Regions from separate parts of the Homo sapiens genome. Here region 1 is linked to region 2. The links are contacts of gene promoters, found by promoter capture Hi-C in blood cells and fetal thymus (Javierre and others, 2016). All regions are on one chromosome and are shown on one strand. The core of a region is centred on a gene start or on the middle of the fragment in contact, and the rest is flanking DNA. Distances in the headings are between cores, read along the strand shown.

The links. Contacts are between HindIII fragments. The CHiCAGO score rates a contact against its expected background, and 5 or more counts as called.
Region 1: a contact is called between a fragment that was not itself captured here and the fragment with the promoter of SYNGR2 in region 2, in 2 of 17 cell types (naive B cells and total B cells). The highest score is 5.5, in naive B cells.

Annotation. Positions count from the first base shown.
Region 1 is chr17:77,322,289-77,328,344 of GRCh38, forward strand. All of the region lies in intron 2 of SEPTIN9 (septin 9), which reads left to right. Among named protein-coding and RNA genes, the nearest start is that of SEPTIN9-DT, 43 kb to the left of the region's middle. RefSeq lists a silencer at 1,296-1,469 and enhancers at 2,756-3,025, 3,136-3,445, 3,637-4,555. The HindIII fragment of the contact is 681 bases long and covers 2,944-3,624 here.
Region 2 is chr17:78,167,310-78,173,428 of GRCh38, forward strand. It overlaps SYNGR2 (synaptogyrin 2), which reads left to right and starts at 1,272. Exons shown (of 4, transcript NM_004710.7): 1 at 1,272-1,406; 2 at 3,508-3,745; 3 at 4,201-4,340; 4 at 4,430-5,411. The coding sequence starts at 1,308. The coding sequence ends at 4,627. RefSeq lists silencers at 935-1,544, 1,575-1,734 and enhancers at 4,564-4,633, 5,454-5,723, 5,914-6,023. The HindIII fragment of the contact is 20,994 bases long and covers 1-6,119 here.

The DNA of each region.
Region 1 (6,056 bases), core at 2,034-4,533, 840 kb before region 2:
AGTGCTGTGCCCCAGAGACCACTCTGATCCCTGCTGCCCTTGGCTGAGGACAGCACAGCCAGGGATGAAGCGGGGACCTCCCCTCGGGCTGTGCCTTGATGAAAGATGCTTTCTACAAAATCCCATTCGGATGTGTTTTCATGTAAGAAAACGTACATTTTTAGAAACTCAGTTGTAAACTGGCTGCCTTCCGAATGAACACGACAGTCCCGGAGCTGTTTCCCTTAATGAGGTTCTCGTCCTGGGCAAACTTTAGCGCTGGTCTTTAATTGTCACTGAACTCCCGCACAGTCCCTGGGGAAGTGACTTCCTTCCTGTCCCTGCTGGGTGGCCTTGAGCAAGCCACTTGGCAGCTCTGGGCCGCAGTTCCGTCATCTGCAAGGTGAGGGGTGGGAGCGGCACGGCCCCTAGGCAGCGCCCCCACCTCCTGCGGGTTTCTGCGCGTGTCCTGAGTTTTGTGGGCGCCTCTTCCCTCACTGAGGGGCTCTTCTTCTCTGCAGGGCATGGCTCACGCCGCGTTGTCAGGCTGCAAGCCACTGCGAGAGCTGCTCTGATCCCCAAGCATGCTCTGGCCTGAGGAGGAGCCATGGGGAGGACGCTGTGCCTGTGTGACAGAGGCCTGCCCGGCAGATGCCGGCCCGCTGACTTCCAGACGTGGCTGTGGGTGCCTCATGCCCCACTGGGCTGGCGTGTGAGGCGTGTCCAGCTCAGGCTGCCCTACAGCTGCCCAGGAAGGGTTTGTGGGAGGGGGTGGTCCTACCCTGGTGAGTCCACGGTGGTCTGCCAGCCCCAGGGAAGGCTTAGGAGCCCCAAGACCTGCCCTCTTGTCCCTCCCTCGGCAGTGTCTGGCTCCGGTCTGGTTTGTGAACGGGGGCCTGGGTACTCTCCCGCCCTCCCTGGGGGCTGTGGCCTTCCCCTGGGAAGGTGCTGGAGGGTTTGTCAGCAGGGCCGGCATGAGTCATGGAGTGGTGACTGGCCGCTGAGGCATGGAAGGCCACTCCTTCCAGCCAAGGGTCGGAGCTTTTTTTTTGTTCTGGAACGGCTTTGTGGCTTTTACAAATTAAGCAGTTTTATCTTGTTCCAAGAGCTTGTATTTCAGCAGGGAGAGAGTCTCCAAGAAGGGAACTTTCCACTGGGGAGCTCTGTTGGGCTGGGAGGCTAGGAACAGGCCACGAGGGAGGGCTGCAGGCAGGGGAAGTGGCCGTCTGTGCATGGTCATGAATGCAGGCCCGGGGTCCTGGAGGGGGCTTGGCCACGCTGTCGCTGGACGTCTGTCCCCACCAGGGTCCATCTGATGCAGTACGGCACAGGGTAAAGCCCAGCTCCTCTTACGGGGTTCCTGGGTCATCAGTGGGCGGGGAACCGAGGCCTCCTGGAGGGCGGTGCCTCAGCCCTCACCCCTCCCTCCTGTCCCTCGCTGTGCTGTCCCCGATGGCCTCTGCCATCCCCTGGGAGTTCTTACCCCTGGACGCTCGGTGCCTGTCCGGTCTCAACCTCTCCAGCTCTGCTTTTCCATCTCCGAGGTGAGAGGCCTGGCCTGACGCGCTCTGCACCCGCTTCCTGCCCAGCCCCGTGGGAACTCTGGTCCCTGTAGTGGTTTCCTGGGGCTGCCATCACCAAGTGCCACAAACTGGGTGGCTCAAAACACCAGACATTTCTTCTCTCGCCGTTCTGGAGGCCAGAAGTCCGAAATCACGGCATCAGCAGGCCTGGTTCTTTCCGGAGGCTCCGAGGGGGAGCCTGCTTCTCGCCTCTGGCAGCTTCTGGCGGCTCCCGAAACCCTTGGCGTTCCTTGGCTCGTGGCCACACCACTCGACCTCTGCCTCCGTTGTCACGGGGCCTCCTTCTGTGCCCTAAATCTCCCCCTGTCTGTCTCTCATACGGACAGTCTTTCTCGGATTTAGGGCCCACTGGGTAACCCAAAATGGTCCCATCTCAAGATCCTTAACTTCATAACGTCTGCAAAGACCCTTTTTCCAAATAGGCCATGTTCATAGGCTCTGGGGTGGATGTAAATTTTAGGGGCCACCTTTCATCCCCCTGTTGTCCCCGTGTGTCTGGATGCACAGCATGGTTCCATGTCCCAGACTCCTTGCTGGACCCCTCTGGCCCTTTGGGGTGGCCTTTGGCCTTTTCCACTCGTTTCTGTGCTCCTGGTGAGGTGTCGGGGTCGGGCTTAGCCCCTGCAGGAATTCTGGGGACAGCATGGAGCCGGCAACTCCCCACCAGGCGTCTTCCTACCTGCCCAGAGCTCATGGTTGTGAGGGGTCTCTCCTTGTGGTTTTGATTTGCAATTCCCCAGTGGTTAGTGATGTTGAGCATCTTTTCGTGTTTATTGCTCATTTGCACATATTCTTGCAGAAATGTCTGTCCAAGTCCTTTACCTGTGTTTGATTTGGATGATTGTTGTTGCTGAGTGTTAGGAGATCTGTAGATTAATATCCAGATACTAATCCCATATCTGACCTATGATTTGCTGCCATTCCATGGATTGCCTTCTCCCCACGTTGTTAGTGCCCTTTGATATGCAATTTTTTTTTTTTTTTTTGAGATGGAGTCTGACTCTGTTGCCCAGGCTGGAGTGCAGTGGCATGATCTTGGCTCACTGCAACCTCCGCCTCCCTGGTTCCAGCGATTTTCCTGCCTCAGCCTCCTGAGTAGTTGGGATTACAGGCACCCGCCACCACACCCAGCTAATTTTTGTATTTTTAGTAGAGACGGGGTTTCACTGTGTTGACTAAGTTGGTCTCGAACTCCTGACCTCAAGTAATCCACCCGTCTCGGCCTCCCAAAGTGCCGGAGTTACAGGCGTGAGTCACCGCACCCAGGCTGATATGCAAATATTTTAAACTTCTATGACGTTCCACTTTATCTATTTGTTCTTCTGTTGCCTGTGCTTTTGGCGCCATATCCAAGAAATCATTGCCAAATGCAACGTCAGGAAGCTTTTCCCCTGTGTTTTCTTCTAAGAGTTTTGTGGTTTTAGCTCTTGAGTTTAGGTCTTTGATGCAAGTTGAGTTGATTTTTGCATGTGGTGTAAGGGCTGGTCCAGCCTCATGCTCTGGGCTCTTGATTCACTTCTCTTCTTTTCTCACGCCCAGCTGGTTCCGCTGGGTGGCGGGGAGGAGTGGGGAAGTCCCGGGCTGGGCCTGCACTCGATCATCCCCTCTCAGGCCAGCCAGGGAGTCTCAGCTCCTGCCCAGGACCTGGCTGGACGTGCTCCCTACCGGGAAAGCCTGGGCCGTCTTTCTAGGCTGATGGCAGGGCCAGCCCGGGGCGTCCTGAGGCCTGCCCTGCGGACATGCCCCTTGTTCTAGGTGGTGTGGCTGCCCGGCCTGCGTGTGAGACCAGCTGTCTGTGCTTCAGGCCATGGAGGCTGAGTGTTTCCAGCCTGTCCCCTTGCTCGGCTCTCCCTCTGGGGAAGCCCCTGCAGCCCATTCTCTGCCTCCGCTTCTGCCATCTGTGCCTTTGTCTGCTTCCTGTTTGGAGGTGGTCATCCCTGGGGCCACCCCTCATGATCTGGACACAAGTCTCCATCCTGAAGCCACCACCCAAACCCCTGTGCCTCAAACCCCTCCCACCCACCACATGGGTTTCCACTGTGACCAACTCAGCAGCTGATGAAGCTTCCCTTGGGGCTCTCCTAGCAACGGGGAGCTGGCTTTCCCGGAGGCCTGGCCTCTCCCTAAGTGGAAGTGGGGCGTGAGGGTGTCAGCCTTTTTCTGCTGCCTGGTGCTCTAGGTTGGCTTGTCACCCCTGGAAGCACTTGCCATCCTTATACAGCACCCCACACCCACCTCCCCGCCTCCTACCCCTTCTTCCAAGGGGTCATCTCTGCTTCCCTCCCCACCCAACCTCACCCATGTGGTCCGCCCAGCAACCTTTGACCCCCAACATGACAAAATAAACCTCCCTTGCCGGTCACTCATTCATTCATTCAGCATTGGGTGCTCCCTGTGGACTTGGCGCTGGGGTCCCGTGGAGGACAAAGCCAGACACAGTCCTTGCCCTCATGGGACTGCACAAGTGCAAGACCACATCAGTAAACGTGAAACACAGGAAGTGACAGGTGTGACAAAGGGGACCAGTGGCAGGACAGAACCTGCGGTTCGTAGGACCAGGTCAGGAGGGCTGCCTCGGGGGGACACCTTCGGGCTGAGCGCAGAAGGATGAGGGGAGTAAACCAGGCTCAAACCCAGCAGGCAGAGGCGATCGCTGCAGGCAACCGGCAATGTGTTCAAAGGCCCTGGGGCGCGGGGGGCTGAGGCCGGCAGCACGGCAGGAAGTAAGACTGGGGTTGAAAGAGACTGACTGTCATGTTGTGAAATATACACTTGGTTTTCATCTCCATTTCCTGGCACACAACTCCTAAAATCCTTGGAATCTCCAAAGTGATGTCTTTTTGGATGCTCATGATTGACAGACCAGCTGGCAGCTTCAGGATGGTTCCCAGGGAAGACCAGGTAGAATCACAAGGTTCAGCACCACCCCGCAACCTCCAGGTAGGGGAGAGGGGCTGAAGGTTAAGCAGATCATCAGCGGCCAATGATTGAATCAATCATGCCTTCGTAATGAGGCCTCCGTGAACACTCAGAAGGATGGGGTTCCGGGAGCTTCTGGATGGATGAGCATGTGGAGGCTCCTGGAGGGTGGAGCGCCTGGGGAGCACATGGAAGCTCTGCGTCCCTCCCCCATACCTTGCCCTACACATCTCTTCCCCTGTATCCTTTGTAATATCCTTTATAATAAACTAGTAAATTCCATGAGCCCCAGGAACATGTGTAAAAGAAAAAAAAAAGAATAAACCATAGCTGCTGTAGCAAGTTAATCCTACCAGCACTGGCTCTCATCTGCCGACCTTACCTCTGGCAATGCCTCCCTCTCCTGGGCTCCTGGGACCCCTCCGGCCCCACCACCCCTCCTGTAGTGGTCTCGCTGGCTGCTGCCCTCAGGTTAGTTTATTTTTACCCGGCCTGCTCCCACCAGGGGCTGAGGCCTCCTTGCTCACTCCAGCTTCCTGGCCCGTCTCTTGCTCTGGGCACCCCCCCACTCCGAACGGCCAGAGCTTCTGAAGCCGCTCGCTGTGTGCCCCCGCCTGGCCCCATGCATCCCGCACGGTGCTCCCCAGGGTCTCCCACTGGCAAGGGCATTGGCATAGATTCTGGGGCTGCCTTGGTTCAAGCCCACCCTGACTTGGAGCCTGAGGGTCCCTGAGGGGGTCCTGAAGGCCAGGGCAGGCAAGGCTGGCATGCTCTGGGCAGTGGGGGCTGGGTATGGGAGGGGATCGTGGGTGGGGAGATTCCTCTTAACCAGCGGCCCACGTTTGGAGACTGATTTGGGCTCCAGGCTACGCCTTGAAATTGGGACAGAGAGTGGCGCAGATCTCAGCCCGGAGACTCCCTCTGCCTGTGGACGCCCTCATACCTCCATCCGTGGAGCCACCCTCCTCTTTTTTTTTCTAAATGGGGAAACTCTGACTTGAACACTGAATAAACAACACACCCTCGAAATCAGCGAAGAGGCACTGGCTCTGAAACTTTGCCATGAAAGCTTGAAAATGCTCTTTGGACCGATTTGCTGGAACAGACGGGTGTGATGGGGCTGCGGGGTTTCAGGTGGCAGGAGGCGTCCCCGTGCCTAGGGCATCCCGATGCTCAGAGTTTCCCCGTGCCCAGTGTGTCCCTGTATCCAGGGCATCCCCATGCCCAGGGTGTCCCCGTGCCTAGTGTGTCCCTGTATCCAGGGCATCCCCATGCCCAGGGTTTCCCCGTGCCCAGGGTGTCCCTGTATCCAGAGCATCCCCATGCCCAGGGTGTCCCCGTACCCAGGGTGTCCCCGTTCCCAGGGCGTCCTGTGCCCAGGGTGTCCCCGTGCCCAGTGTGTCCCTGTATCCAGGGCGTCCCCATGCCCAGGGTGTCCCCATGCCCAGGCACTGCCTCTCCCCACTTTCCTAATCTCCCTCCACCAACAGGTGTCAGCTGTGAAATGCCTGCTGTGTGTGTCCTTTGGTTGAGTTCATCTTGTGCTCTTAAGTTCCTGTTAGACACAGGCAGGCT
Region 2 (6,119 bases), core at 22-2,521:
TCTCCCACCTCAGCCTCTGGAATAGCTGGGACTGCTAGTAGCTGCCACCACGCCTCGCTAACTTTCGTTTTTGGTTTTGTTTGTTTGTTTGTTTGTTTGTTTGTTTTGTTTGTTTTGAGATGGACTCTTGCTCTGTTGCCCAGGCTGGGGTGTAGTGGCTCGATCTCAGCACACGGCCACCTCTGCCTACCGGTTTCAAGCAATTATCCTGCCTCAGCCTCCCAAGTAGCTGGGATTACAGGCGCTTACCACAACGCCCAGCTAATTTTTTTGTTGTTGTTGTATTTTTAGTAGAGACGGGGTTTCACCATGTTGGCCAGGCTGGTCTCAAACTCCTGACCTCAGGTGATCCAACCGCCTCGGCCTCCCAAAGTGCTGGGATTACAGGTGTGAGCCACTGCGCCCGGCCTTGCACACCATCTTTTTTTTTTTTTTTTTTTTTTTTTTTGACACAGAGTTTTGCTCTTGTTGCCCAGGCTGGAGTGCAATGGCACAATCTCGGCTCACCGCAACCTCCACCTCCCAGGTTCAAGCGATTCTCCTGCCTCAGCCTCCCGAGTAGCTGGGATTACAGGCATGCACCACCACACCAGGCTAATTTTTGTATTTTTAGTAGAGACGGGGTTTCTCCATGTTGGTCAGGCTGGTCTCGAACTCCTGACCTCAGGTGATCCAACCGCCTCGGCCTCCCAAAGTGCTGGGATTACAGGTGTGAGCCACCGCTCCCGGCCTTGCACACCATCTTAAGTGTGACGCCACACTGCCCTTCACAGCCTTGGGGCTCTGCCCAGACCAGGAGGAATGGGGAGGGGGTCTTTGACCCTACCCCAGGCTTAGCCCCAGAGAGGAGGAAAGAGTGGCAGGCCAGGCAGGGAGGGGCTCCAGGGTGTGGCCTGGGTTTTTCAGTGGGATGGGGGAGGGGTTGCTTATGAGCCTGGGTGGGTTCTTGGTAGGTGGTGGGCTTCCTAGAGGAGGCGGTGGGAGGGCAGGGGCAAAGAGGGTGAGCGGTCCTCAGTTCGTCCGTCTTCCCGGGGGACTCTCTGACCCTTTCTGGTCCGTGCTGCGGCCGGCGTGGCCCGGAGACTAGCCCCTCAACCCCGAGGTGGGGTGGACCCGGGTGCTCCGCGGCCACAGCCCCTCCCCGCCTCTAGAAGCGCAGTCCCGCGGCTCGCCCGCCGCTCGCGAGGGCCGCACTTTGCCCTCGGTCCCTAGCGGCGCCTGGCCACGCCCCCGGCGGGTGGAGTCGGGCGGGGCGCCGGGCAGGTTCCTCTGCGTTCCGCGGCGGCGGCAGCGGCGGCGACGGCGACATGGAGAGCGGGGCCTACGGCGCGGCCAAGGCGGGCGGCTCCTTCGACCTGCGGCGCTTCCTGACGCAGCCGCAGGTGGTGGCGCGCGCCGTGTGCTTGGTGAGCCCGGGGAGGGCGGGCCGAGGGCACCCTGGGGACCCCCTCTCCGTCGCCAGGCCCGGCGGGGCCCCTAGCCCACGAGCGCGACAGGTGGCGGCGGCCGCGTCCGGGGCCTGGCGGCGAGCGGGGCCGGCGTCCAGCGTCCCGGGCCCCGCCTTCCCGCCCTCCACAGTCTGTCCCGCTGTCCCCTCCCGGTCCCGGGTCCCGCCACCCACCCCACCCCCAGCCTCGCGCCCCGACGCGGGGTGTCCGGATCTCCGCAGGGAGCGGGCCCCTGCCTCGCTGGCAGTGGGAGGAGTTTGGGGGCGGCTCCCGGACAGGTGGCCCGCACGCCGCGACTCCCAGATTGGGGAGTTCACCGGGACGGGGTTTTCCGAAGCCACGTGGGGTAAGGGAGGGGGCGGGGGGCGACCCAACGCCCGGAAACAGGGTGTCCTTCCCACTCGGGGCAGGCCACGGGTCCGCCTTCCCACCCGAAGTTGAGGGACCCCAAGATGTACCCCCTCCCTGTAAGGTGGGCAATACCTCCAAAACCAGGTTTTGTGTGTGTGTGTGTGTGGCGGGGAGGGGGCCTGTTCTTGGACAGCCAGCCCTGAAAGCTGGAGGGGGTGGCATGAGGGGGCAGGCAGAGGTGGGCCTGCTGTGCCCAGACCATGCCTGGGCCTGGAGCTTCTGAGGTCCTCCAGGGCGCCCACACCAGCTCCCAGCCAGGCTGTGGGATCTGATCGCCTCTGTCCTGGGCTGTGTCCAAGAATCAGGTGCCCAGTGGGTCGGGATGGCAGTGCCAGGAGTCCTGGATGGGCACCCTGCTCCCATCATCCCGGAGATCCGGCTTCATCTCCATCTGGGGGCGGGGCCTGTGACTGCCAGCTCCAGAGCCCTATGGAGAGCTCCCTGGGACAACAGGGCAGGACTGGCAGGGGAGAGTCCTGGGGCCATCCCAGAGGGATCCTGATGCTCACAGACCTGTCCCACACCTGCTGAGGTGGAGCAGGCGTGGGTGGTGGCCTTCAAGTTTAGGGAGGTGGTATGGGGCTCTTCCCAAGGGGCTGGAGCTCCCCTACATCCACCCTGGGTCCTCCAGGTGTCTGAGTTCAGAGCTGTATCCACAGGCCTGAGTTAGTCCCCTTGTAGTGCCCTGTGCATGCAGGGCCCTCTGTGGGGTGGGAGACAGACTGGGAGGGACCAGGATGCCACAGAGGCTGCAAGTCCTTGTGTGGAGACAGCTGGCCAGGCTGAACCAGGGAGGGTTCCAGGGGTTCCAGGAGGTGAAGACACAGGGGCGCCAGCATGGCCTTCCCAAGAGGGCCTGTCCACCTTCACCAAGGTGTTCAGGCAGAGGCTGGGTGCTGTAGAAGTGACTTGGGCTGAAGGTGACGGGGGATGGGTAGTCTTTGTGACTTGGCCTGTCTTGGTTAAACCTCTTTCAAGGTGAGGTTGGGCTGGGGATGGAAGGACTGCCCTTCATCCATCAGGTACCTAAGCAGAATGATTCCTGCAGCAGGCCGATGGGGCAGGAGCAGCCCCTGCCTAGGAGGTCCCTGCCCATTCCCCACCCCTCCCCGGTCCAGGATTCCCAGGGGCAGGCCCCCTGGTGCCTGCAGATTCTCATCCTGGGGTGCATCAGGAAGCACTTTGCTCATCAGCTCACCTCCACAAGTTTGGAGGGGCTAAGATGTCAGCCTCCAAAAGGGGACAGCAGGCTGGGCGAGGTGGCTCATGCCTGTAATCCCAGCACTTTGGGAGGCCGAGGAGGGTGGATCACCTGAGGTCAGGAGTTCCAGACCAGCCTGGCCAACATGGTGAAACCCTATCTCTACTAAAAATACGGGTGTGGTGGAGGGCACCTGTAATCCCAGCTACTAGGGAGGCTGAGGCAGAATTGCTTGAACCCAGGAGGCAGAGGATGCAGTGAGCCGAGATCGCACTATTGCACTCCAGCCTGGGCAACAAGAGCAAGACTCCATCTCAAACAACAACAAAAACCCAAAAGGGGACAGCAGTAGTGGGAGAGGCCAGCATCTGTACACCCCATCAGGGTCCCCGCTGTGTGTGCCCCTCAGGCGGCCACCAGCCCTACCAGGTCCTCCCCTCCCGGCAGGTCTTCGCCTTGATCGTGTTCTCCTGCATCTATGGTGAGGGCTACAGCAATGCCCACGAGTCTAAGCAGATGTACTGCGTGTTCAACCGCAACGAGGATGCCTGCCGCTATGGCAGTGCCATCGGGGTGCTGGCCTTCCTGGCCTCGGCCTTCTTCTTGGTGGTCGACGCGTATTTCCCCCAGATCAGCAACGCCACTGACCGCAAGTACCTGGTCATTGGTGACCTGCTCTTCTCAGGTATCTGCCTGTGGCACCTCCATTTGATCTTGGGGGAGGCATTAACTCTAGGGTTCCGCAGCTGGGAGGGTCTCGGCCTCTCTGGGAGGGGCAGGGAGCAGCTCACTCCTCCAGGGCATTTTTAGGAAAGGGTTTTCAGCTAGTGTTTTTCCGTGCTTGAATGGCACCAGCCCTGCCTGGGGTAGCTAGAAGCTGAGTGGACCTGCAGCACACCCGAGCAGATGGGCTTTGCCTCTGCCCCTTTTGTCCCCTAGGCTGTCTGCTGTGGCCCACCCTGCCAAGGCCCGAGTGTGGGGGACTTTGGAGGTGGCTCCCGGCCCGGCTTCCAAGTCCTCCCCTCCATAGTGTGGAGGCTCCCCCGGGAGGTCCCTGCCCTACCTGCCCGCGTCCCCTCCCAGAGTCCTGGAAAGCCCCTCCCTTTCCATGGAACTGACGCTTCACCCGTCCTCCCCCAGCTCTCTGGACCTTCCTGTGGTTTGTTGGTTTCTGCTTCCTCACCAACCAGTGGGCAGTCACCAACCCGAAGGACGTGCTGGTGGGGGCCGACTCTGTGAGGGCAGCCATCACCTTCAGCTTCTTTTCCATCTTCTCCTGGGTAGGATGGCCAGGGGCCGGTTCTTGGGTCAAGGGTGGTGGAGGGTGGGGTCCCCCACCCACCTGTACCCTGCTGTGCTCCCCCTGCAGGGTGTGCTGGCCTCCCTGGCCTACCAGCGCTACAAGGCTGGCGTGGACGACTTCATCCAGAATTACGTTGACCCCACTCCGGACCCCAACACTGCCTACGCCTCCTACCCAGGTGCATCTGTGGACAACTACCAACAGCCACCCTTCACCCAGAACGCGGAGACCACCGAGGGCTACCAGCCGCCCCCTGTGTACTGAGCGGCGGTTAGCGTGGGAAGGGGGACAGAGAGGGCCCTCCCCTCTGCCCTGGACTTTCCCATGAGCCTCCTGGAACTGCCAGCCCCTCTCTTTCACCTGTTCCATCCTGTGCAGCTGACACACAGCTAAGGAGCCTCATAGCCTGGCGGGGGCTGGCAGAGCCACACCCCAAGTGCCTGTGCCCAGAGGGCTTCAGTCAGCCGCTCACTCCTCCAGGGCACTTTTAGGAAAGGGTTTTTAGCTAGTGTTTTTCCTCGCTTTTAATGACCTCAGCCCCGCCTGCAGTGGCTAGAAGCCAGCAGGTGCCCATGTGCTACTGACAAGTGCCTCAGCTTCCCCCCGGCCCGGGTCAGGCCGTGGGAGCCGCTATTATCTGCGTTCTCTGCCAAAGACTCGTGGGGGCCATCACACCTGCCCTGTGCAGCGGAGCCGGACCAGGCTCTTGTGTCCTCACTCAGGTTTGCTTCCCCTGTGCCCACTGCTGTATGATCTGGGGGCCACCACCCTGTGCCGGTGGCCTCTGGGCTGCCTCCCGTGGTGTGAGGGCGGGGCTGGTGCTCATGGCACTTCCTCCTTGCTCCCACCCCTGGCAGCAGGGAAGGGCTTTGCCTGACAACACCCAGCTTTATGTAAATATTCTGCAGTTGTTACTTAGGAAGCCTGGGGAGGGCAGGGGTGCCCCATGGCTCCCAGACTCTGTCTGTGCCGAGTGTATTATAAAATCGTGGGGGAGATGCCCGGCCTGGGATGCTGTTTGGAGACGGAATAAATGTTTTCTCATTCAGTCTCCAGTCATTGGTTGAGCCACAGCCTAGGGGTTGGAGGAAGACTCCACTCTGGGTACACCCTTAGGGGCTGGCTTTATGGAACTTGTAGTTTGAACAAGGCAGTGGCAATCCGCCCCCTCCAGCCTGCCTGGCTGGCCCCCTTCCCTCTGTCTGGGGTCGCATTCCGCACAAGCCTTTCATCAACATCTTAAAATAGTAACTGTGCTCAGCTTGTAAACAAGATGATTTTTCTGGCCTGCAGTGCCAGGGTCCTGCTGCTCCCTTCCTAGAGTGGGGGTGGGGGTACCTGGGAGTTGTCGGTGAATGCCCCTTTCTTGCACTGAATAGGGGTACCATAGGTAAGACCAGGTTTCTACCTTCCTCCAGGGTCAGCACCTCTGGAGCCTTCCTGGGACACGGCCTTGGCCGTCCAGCCCACCCCTCGGAGATAAGGCCCATCTCTGGAAGAGGTCAAGGCCCTAAAGCAACTTCTGGCTTCTTCTTTTGAGCAATGACAGAGGGAGCTGTCATCGGCAAGTCCCGATTGTTTAAAAATCCCCAGTACGAACTAACAGGGCACTGCTCCCAGCCTCACCCGATGGCTTTGGCTTGGGACACATCACTAGCGAAGGGGAGAGGGAGGCTGGGGAGGCCCTGGGAGTGGTGACCCTGCCTGCACAGGACACACCTTACCCCAGCGATGCTTGCCCCCAAGTGAGCTGCCA